Regions from separate parts of the Homo sapiens genome. Here region 1 is linked to region 2. Evidence: promoter capture Hi-C in 16 types of primary human blood cells and fetal thymus (Javierre and others, 2016). All regions are on one chromosome and are shown on one strand. The core of a region is centred on a gene start or on the middle of the fragment in contact, and the rest is flanking DNA. Distances in the headings are between cores, read along the strand shown.

The links. The method cuts DNA at HindIII sites, captures the fragments that hold promoters and counts their contacts. A CHiCAGO score of 5 or more calls a contact.
Region 1: a contact is called between the fragment with the promoter of TCAF1 here and the fragment with the promoter of GSTK1 in region 2, in 1 of 17 cell types (neutrophils). The highest score is 5.7, in neutrophils.

The regions. Positions count from the first base shown.
Region 1 is chr7:143,900,118-143,904,055 of GRCh38, forward strand. TCAF1 (TRPM8 channel associated factor 1) reads right to left here and starts at 2,059. Exons shown (of 9, transcript NM_014719.3): 1 at 1,844-2,059. LOC105375549 (a long non-coding RNA gene) reads left to right here. Exons shown (of 3, transcript XR_007060574.1): 3 at 1-1,836. RefSeq lists enhancers at 1,027-1,564, 1,240-1,289 and a silencer at 2,080-2,219. The HindIII fragment of the contact is 7,751 bases long and covers 1-3,938 here.
Region 2 is chr7:143,261,286-143,265,415 of GRCh38, forward strand. It overlaps GSTK1 (glutathione S-transferase kappa 1), which reads left to right and starts at 2,156. Exons shown (of 8, transcript NM_015917.3): 1 at 2,156-2,300; 2 at 2,801-2,882; 3 at 3,263-3,391; 4 at 3,707-3,807; 5 at 3,976-4,011. The coding sequence starts at 2,229. The region is part of intron 2 of TMEM139-AS1 (TMEM139 antisense RNA 1); the gene reads right to left. It overlaps LOC105375546 (a long non-coding RNA gene), which reads left to right. Exons shown (of 3, transcript XR_007060569.1): 3 at 1,863-1,922. RefSeq lists a silencer at 1,974-2,043 and enhancers at 2,071-2,365, 2,184-2,403. The HindIII fragment of the contact is 19,965 bases long and covers 1-4,130 here.

The sequences.
Region 1 (3,938 bases), core at 809-3,308, 640 kb after region 2:
TACTCCCAGCTATATACTCTAGGGAAGCTCCCACACAAGTGTACTTGAATATTAGAGGACATGGGCAGGCTTTAAAGTGGCCCCGATAATCCCTGCCTCCAGGTGTTCATGTCCTTGTGTCACCCCCTTCCCTTCAGTGTGAGTTGGGCCTAGGGACTCACTTCTAATGAATATAAAATGGCAAAAATAATGGGATGTCGCTTCTGAGGTTACAGAAAGAATCTGACTTCTGTCTTTCTCTTTTTCTCTGTGGGAGCCTTCTCTCTGGGGGGAGTAAGCTGCCATGTTGCAACCATTCTTTATACAGAGGCCCATGTGGCAAAGAACTGATGTGTACAGCCAGGGTCAGTGAGGCCAATCGGCCTGCCAGCAGTCATGTGAGTAAGCCTGGGAGAGGTCCTCGACCCTACGCCTAGCCTTGAGATGACTGAGGCCCAGTCAATACCTTGATTGTTGATACAGCTTGTGAGAGACCCTGAGTCAGAGACTCCCAGCTAAGCCCCTCCTGGATTCCTGATCACAGAAACTGTAAGATAGGAGGTAACAGGACTTGTTTTGTTTGTTCGCTTTGGTTTGAAGCTGCTAGGTGTTGGGGTAATTTGTTACATAGCTTATAGATAAATCATACACCTCCAAAAGTAGAAACAATCCAATGTCCATCAGCAGTAGAATGGATAAATTATGTACATTTACACCTTAAATGACGAAAACGAAAATGGAAGGAAGCATGAAAGATGAATCTATAAAACTTAAGAATACGTACAGGATAATGTCATTAATATAATGTCATTATAATGAGAAAGCCAATACATATGTTTTAGGAATACACACACAAATATGGTAAAACTAAAAAGAAAAGCAAGGGATTCATTAAATTAAGACAAAAATCACGAAAGATGTCACATCTCAGAGAATGGAGGAGAATGGACCATGGGCATCAGTTGGGACTCATGGGCTTCTAAGGTACTGTGACGCCCTATTTCTTGACCCAAGGAGATGGTCAGGCATTCGTTTCATTATTTTTTAGACCATTCTGAGATATTTCATTTACTTTTTATTCAACATTTTAAAACAAAGTATTGAAACCAATTCATCAACAAATCACTAGTTTGGAGGATGAAAGTGATGGACCGATGGTTGGCTGGTCAGCTAGACAGACACATTCTGTCCTTTACGTCTAGTTCGAGCTGTACTTCTTCTAAATTTCCATGATTATCCAATTGGCAAAGATCTTTTTCTCCTGTACTTAAGGCCTTCTTCCGTTGCAGGTTGGGCCAAACTAGCGGCCAGCTCTCGGCTGTTTACCAGGGAACTGTATCACCCAGCACTTGCTGCTTCAGGCCAAATGCATTCCAGACTAACATTCAGCCTGAATCCCCGCGCCGCTCTCACCGCCACCCCTCCCCAGGTCCCTTCCCCCACCACAAACCCACACTGCGCCCGTGGGCGCCTAGAGCACTGGGGTGGATGAGAACTTCCACCTGGGCTTAACGGAGACAAGCTAGCCTAGAAGAATGCAAGCCCCCAGCTGGCGAGATCAAATCGCCTCGAGGGTTCCTGCTAGCTCAGATCTTAATGGCTCCTTGCGGAGCAAAAAACAAATCCTACGAAAATAGGGGGGGTCATCGCCTCCTGCCCAGCAGAGGGCATAACAATGCGGCGAGAATGAAATAGGCACCGAGCTGCAGAGAAAAATCATCAACGGGGTAGAGACGAAGGAAGGGATCCTCGGTGGAACGGCTCTATCACCTGGGGGCGCGCGCAGAGGCCGCAATCCACGCCCGGCCCTCCCCAGACGCTAAACGTCGCACCCCGCCCACCGCTCCCCGCCCCGGACACTAACCCGGGGCCCAGGCCTCGGTCACCGCGGGCCTCTCCTGGTCCAGAGTCTACGCTGAACCCCACTCACTGTTTGCCCCGCTGTTCCCTGCAGCGCGGGTTCGGGGCAGTAGCAACCTGCTAGGAGCGGGAGGCGGTTGTTCCCAGGAGGAAGCAGCTTCTCCGCCCAGGAGGCAAAGGGCAGCGGGCTCGAAACTACAGGACTTGGAAAGTCTTAGGCGGAGACTGCGGGGGTGGGGGGTGGTGAGGAGGGGCCTTCCAGGGAGCTGATTGGTCGACGCGGACGGGGGCGGGACTTGGCCGGCGCCGTCCCTCCCCTAGACCTCAGAGGCCCTGCCCGCAGATGTGGCGCCAAATCCCGGATGCAGGCCTAGGCGCCAGCCCAGGAATATAGGGAGCAAATTGTTAAGAACAAAACAAAACAAAACAAAAGTGAGAATACTTCTGAACAAGTGACGGCCTTGATAAATAGCGAGAGATGTTTATATAAAATAATACAGGACTATTTTTAAGGACGAGTGAAATCTATCGGTTCTAGCTATAGTTTTTAATTAAAAAAGCAAGTTGTATTAAAATGGAGAGTAGGATCTCTCTTTCCCCCTCCCCTCCCCTCCCCTCCCCTCCCCTCCCCTCCCCTCCCCTCCAGGGGGAGGGTCTGCTTCTGCCACCCAGGCTGGAGTGCAGTGGTGCCATCACAGCTCACTGCAGCTTCAACCTCCCAGGCTCAAGCGATCCTTCCACCTCAGAGGCTGGGACCACAAGTGCGCCGCCACCACGCCCAGCTAACTTTTTGATTTTTTGTTAGAGACAGGGTTTTACTTTGTTGCCCAGGCTGGTCTCGAACGCCAGGGCTCAAGTGATCCTCCCGCCTCGGCCTCCCAAAGTGCTGGGATCACAGGCCTGAGCCACTGCATCAGCTTTAGCATTACATTCGTGTATGAAGAAGACATGCTGCATGTGCTTCTATAAGAGGCGGGGCTAACGGTGGAGAAATTGTCTATTGATTCTTACCTTCACAACCACTGAATTGTTTTTTTTTAAACCAATACATTGTTTTTATAAGTTTAATAAAACAGTAAGGCGTTGAGAATGTTACTAACCAATCAACAGATGACAGATATTGGGCATGAGGGAGGAAAGAAAGAAAGGAGTAGCAGGGAAAAAGCCTGGACTTTGAAGCCACCACATCCTCTGCTTACAAGTTGGGCAGTGTATTCATTGCTAAGGCTGCTGTGATAAATTTTCACACATTTAGTGGCTTAAAACAACACAGATTTACTACTATCTTCCAGGACTGTAGGTCCTGGAAGTCCAGCACAGGTCTCACTGGGCTATCATCCAGGTGTAGGCAGGGATGTGTTTCTCTTTGCAGGATCTAGGGACAAATCTATTTTCCTTGCTTTTTCCAGCTTCCAGAGGCTCCCGCATTCCCTGGCTTGCAGCCCTTTCCTTCATCTTCAAAGTCAGCAATCTCATGGCTCCAGCCTCTGCTTCTGTGTCACATCTCCTTCTTTGAGTCTCCTGCTTCCTTCTTTCACTTAGAAGGACCTTGTGATTACATTGTGCCTATCCAGATAATCTAGATAATTTCCCATCTCAAGGTCAGCTAATTAGCAGCCTTCATTCTGTCTGCAACCTTAATTCTCCCTTGCCATGTAGCATTGCGTATCACAAATTCTGGGAATTAGGATCTGGACATCTGTATTAATCCATTTTCACACTGCAGATAAAGACATTCCCCAGACTGGGCAATTTACAAAAGAAAGAGGTTTAATTGGACTCACAGTTTCACGTGGTTGGGGAGGCCTCACAATCATGGCAGAAGGCAAGGAGAAGCAAGTCACATCTTATGTGGATGGCGGCAGGCAAAGAGACAGCTTGTTCAGGGAAACTGCCGTTTTTAAAACCATCGGATCTCCTGCGACCTCTCCACTATCATGAGAACGGTTGGGGAAAGACCCACCCCCATGATTCAATCATCTCCCACCAGATCCCTCCCATAACACGTGGGAATTATGGGAGCTGCAAGATGAGATTTGGGTGGGGGCACATAGCCAAACCATATCAACATCTTTAGGGAGCTATTTTTCTGCCTATCA
Region 2 (4,130 bases), core at 906-3,405:
ACACACAAAAAATTAGCTGGGCGTGGTGGTGGGCACCTGTAATCCCAGCTACTTGGGAGGCTGAGGCAGAGAGAATTGCTTGAACCCAGGAGGCAGAGGTTGCAGTGAGCTGCAATTGTGCTACTGCACTCCAGCCTGGGCAACAGAACAAGACTCCATCTCAAAAAAAAAAAAAGTTTAGTTTCAGTGGTTGTTGAACAATTAGTTTACTCTGCAAGTAGGTAATGATAACATCATTTTTCATTCCATTTTGCATGCTCTTCTCCATGTAGGGGTTTACCTCGTATCTCTGTATTCTGATAGCCTGGAGTTGTTTTCCTTATTGATACAAATGAAAAGTGGAATCTTTATATGTTTTCCAATTTATTAAATTAGTAATGTTAAAAATAATTTTAACAAAGTTAAATGGAATTATTTTAAAATTCTGTTTCTTTGCAGTAAATGTAATCCCAATATAAGACAATATGACTCACATATTTGTGAAAACGAATAGGGCCAATCGTTTCCATTATCACCAAAATTATCTATAGTGAGGCCTCTCCATCTTCTACCAGTCCCTCTTTTTTTTCACTCACTCAAAATATATGTATCGATGGTCAAATGTGTCCCAGACATTGTGCAAATCTCTGACAAAGGTAACACAAGAAAATGTGTACTCTGAGAACTTCTTATTCTGCCCCAGTTTAGGAGATTCATGCAACTGCCAAGCAACAATAATAAGAGCTAGCAGTTATTGGAGTACCTCATTCCTCACAACTCGTCATAAGGCAGGTGTTATCATTAGATATTCCCCATGTGTATGCAGGATGAGGAAATAGGTTCAGAGAGGTCAAGTGGCTCACCCAAGGGGCACAGCTAAGTGAAAGGCACTGCAGGCATCTCAAACTACCCCCTTCCCACAAGACTCCACTGCAGAGCAGGACAGTCACCCTGACACCAGCCCAATGGGTTCATCTTGCCCATTACCCAGATGGGGCTAATTTATCAAGACAAGGGAATTGCAATAGAGAAAGAGTTTAATACACATAGAGCCAGCTAAACAGGAGACCAGAGTTTTATTATTACTCAAATTAGCCTCCCAAAATTCGGAGGCAGAGGCTAGGGGACTTTGTGGGTTTTTTTGTTTTTGTTTTTGTTTTTCTTTTGAGAGGGAGTCTTGCTATGTCACCCAGGCTGGAGTGCAGTGGCATGATCTCGGCTCACTGCAACCTCTGCCTCCCGGATTCAAGCAATTCTCCTGACTCAGCCCCCCGAGTAACTGGGATTACAGGCACATGCCACCATGCCCGGCTAATTTTTGCATTTTTAGTAGAGACAGGGTTTCACCATGTGGGCCAGAGTGGTCTTGAACTCCTGACCTCAAGTGATCCACCCACCTCAGCCTCCCAAAGTGCTGGGATTACAGGCGTGAGCCACCATGCCCGCCGGCTAGAGTTTTTTAATGATAGTTTGATGGGCAAGGGGCTAGAGAATGGGTGCTGCTAATTGGTTGGGGATGCAATCACAGGGGTGTGGAAAACCGTCCTCAGTGCACCGAGTTGCATTTGGATGCGGGCCACAGAGGAGTCACTGGTCCAGGTGGAGTCATCCTGTCATTAGAAATGGAAAAGTCTGAGAAGGTATCTTCAAAGGCCAGTCTTAGGTTCTACAAAAGTGGTTATTTACAGGAATAATTGGGGAAGTTGCAGAGCTTGTGACCTCTGGAACAATGTCTGGTAATTGTTAATGCCTACATCTTAGCAGAATTCAGGCCCCTCTCATAATCCTAAACTTGTGGACTTTTATTAGTTTTATAAAACTGGTTTAGTTTGGGGAAGGGCTATTATCATTTAAACTATAAACTAAATTTCTCCCTATATTAGCTCGTCCCATGCTCAGGAATGACCAAGGGCAGTTTGGAGGTTAAAGGCACGATGGAGTTGGTGAGTTCAGATCTGTTTCACCTTCGTAATTTTCTCACTGTTAAAATTTTTGCAAAGGCGATTGCAGCGCCCCTTGTCCACACCTGCGCGCTCCCCAAGGGGTCCCTACCCACCCCGCCCCTGGCTGGGGGCCGTAGGCTGGCCCTGCCCCGCTGCGCCGGAGGTGGACCTCTACCAGGGCAGTTTCTCTCTGAGGCTGCGCGCTAAGGCGGTGGGCGGTCCCAGGCAGGCCCAGAAGCTGGGCAGCCTCTGCCGGGTTCCGGGAAAAGGAGCTCCTGCTGCCACTGCTCTTCCGGAGCCTGCAGCATGGGGCCCCTGCCGCGCACCGTGGAGCTCTTCTATGACGTGCTGTCCCCCTACTCCTGGCTGGGCTTCGAGGTGACGCTGGGAGGGGTCGCCTCGGCAGTGTCTGGGGAGTGAGGGCGGAGGGAAGAGTGAGCGCAGGGCTCCGGGACAGAGGTCTCGTGTAACTCCTGGCGCCGCCCAAGGGGTTAAGGCAAGCAGGGAGAGCTCCGGGGCTGAAGGTCACTTTGTGCTTTTAAACGGAATAGAGTCGCTGGCTCCAACCCGAGCCTTTATATCCCGACTGCAGTTTCCCACGGTGGTGGAAAGAGGGGCGGCTCCAAACATTCAGGGAGAAATGCAGAACACGGCCACCTCTTAGCCCAACGATGGCAGTTTTGGGGAAAACTGGCCACAGGAGCGAAGATCCTGGAATAGATTTCTAGTAGTGAGGAGAGTTTTGCCAATTTCAAACCAAACAATGTAGGGTGTCCGCATAACCCCTGCTCTGCACTTAGCGCCTCCCTTCCCTTTCCCTCGGCTCTTTCACTTTTCCATCTTGCACACTGGCAATCGTTCTTGACCTCTGCCCGCAGATCCTGTGCCGGTATCAGAATATCTGGAACATCAACCTGCAGTTGCGGCCCAGCCTCATAACAGGGATCATGAAAGACAGTGGTAGGAAGGGAGGGTCGGGGCAGGGGTGATCTCAGTGGCCCAAGAGAGCCGACCCCAGCGGGTCCTTATATTGGCACTGGCAGCCAGAAAGCTGCCCTCTGCCCCGTCTCTACTAAAAATACAAAATTAGCCGGGCGTGGTAGTGCATGCCTGTATACCACAGCTACTCGGGAGGCTGAGGCGGGAGAATCGCTTGAACCCAGGAGGCGGAGGTTGCGGTGAGCTGAGATCGCACCATTGCACTCCAGCCTGGGCAACAAGAGCGAAACAACAAGAGAAAAAAAAGGAAGCTGCCCTCTGCCCAAAACCCACGTCGAGGTCCCCAAACCTGGGACCCTTAGGTCTTTTCTCACTTAGCGTGCCCAACCTTCTCCTGGCAGGAAACAAGCCTCCAGGTCTGCTTCCCCGCAAAGGACTATACATGGCAAATGACTTAAAGCTCCTGAGACACCATCTCCAGATTCCCATCCACTTCCCCAAGGATTTCTTGTCTGTGATGCTTGAAAAAGGTGAAGAGAGTGGGATGTAGACAGGGTATCCAGTGAAAAACACAGAAGTCGGAGATTGAGGGATTGATAGGATGGAGGGGCTGCGGGAGACTAAAGCAAGTGAAGCCTGCCTTGGGAAACCTCAGGATCAGCCTTGAGCGAGCTGAAGGTTGCCGGGCATGAAAGGGAAGAAGAGCAGGCAAATAGGTCATGGGAACCTTGGGTGAGAGGCTGAGGGCGGAGGAGCTCTGGGGGATGTCAGAAGCAAGGAAGAGCTAGTCCTCCACCAGGAAAGCAGCAAGAGGAGCCCTGCCTCTGGGTGCCTCTGCCCCACAGGAAGTTTGTCTGCCATGCGTTTCCTCACCGCCGTGAACTTGGAGCATCCAGAGATGCTGGAGAAAGCGTCCCGGGAGCTGTGGATGCGCGTCTGGTCAAGGGTGAGTGTGGGGCTCTGGGAATCCTCTGGGAGGACCTTGGATGACTTTCTGACCTTCCCCAGGCACGTTTTCAGGGTCATGATCCTGCCCCCGCCCGGGGGATCTACTGTCCTCCCAGTCACACCCCTCTCCCCGCACCGCCTTCCTGCTGTCTTCTCTTCTTCCCAGAATGAAGACATCACCGAGCCGCAGAGCATCCTGGCGGTGAGTGTCCTGGCTCCACCCCAACTGCACTCATAGAGAATCTGAGAACAGTTGGCGTTTGGGGGTAAAGAAGACAATAGGTCTCTTATTGCATGGAAAAGGTTATAATTACTGGGGAA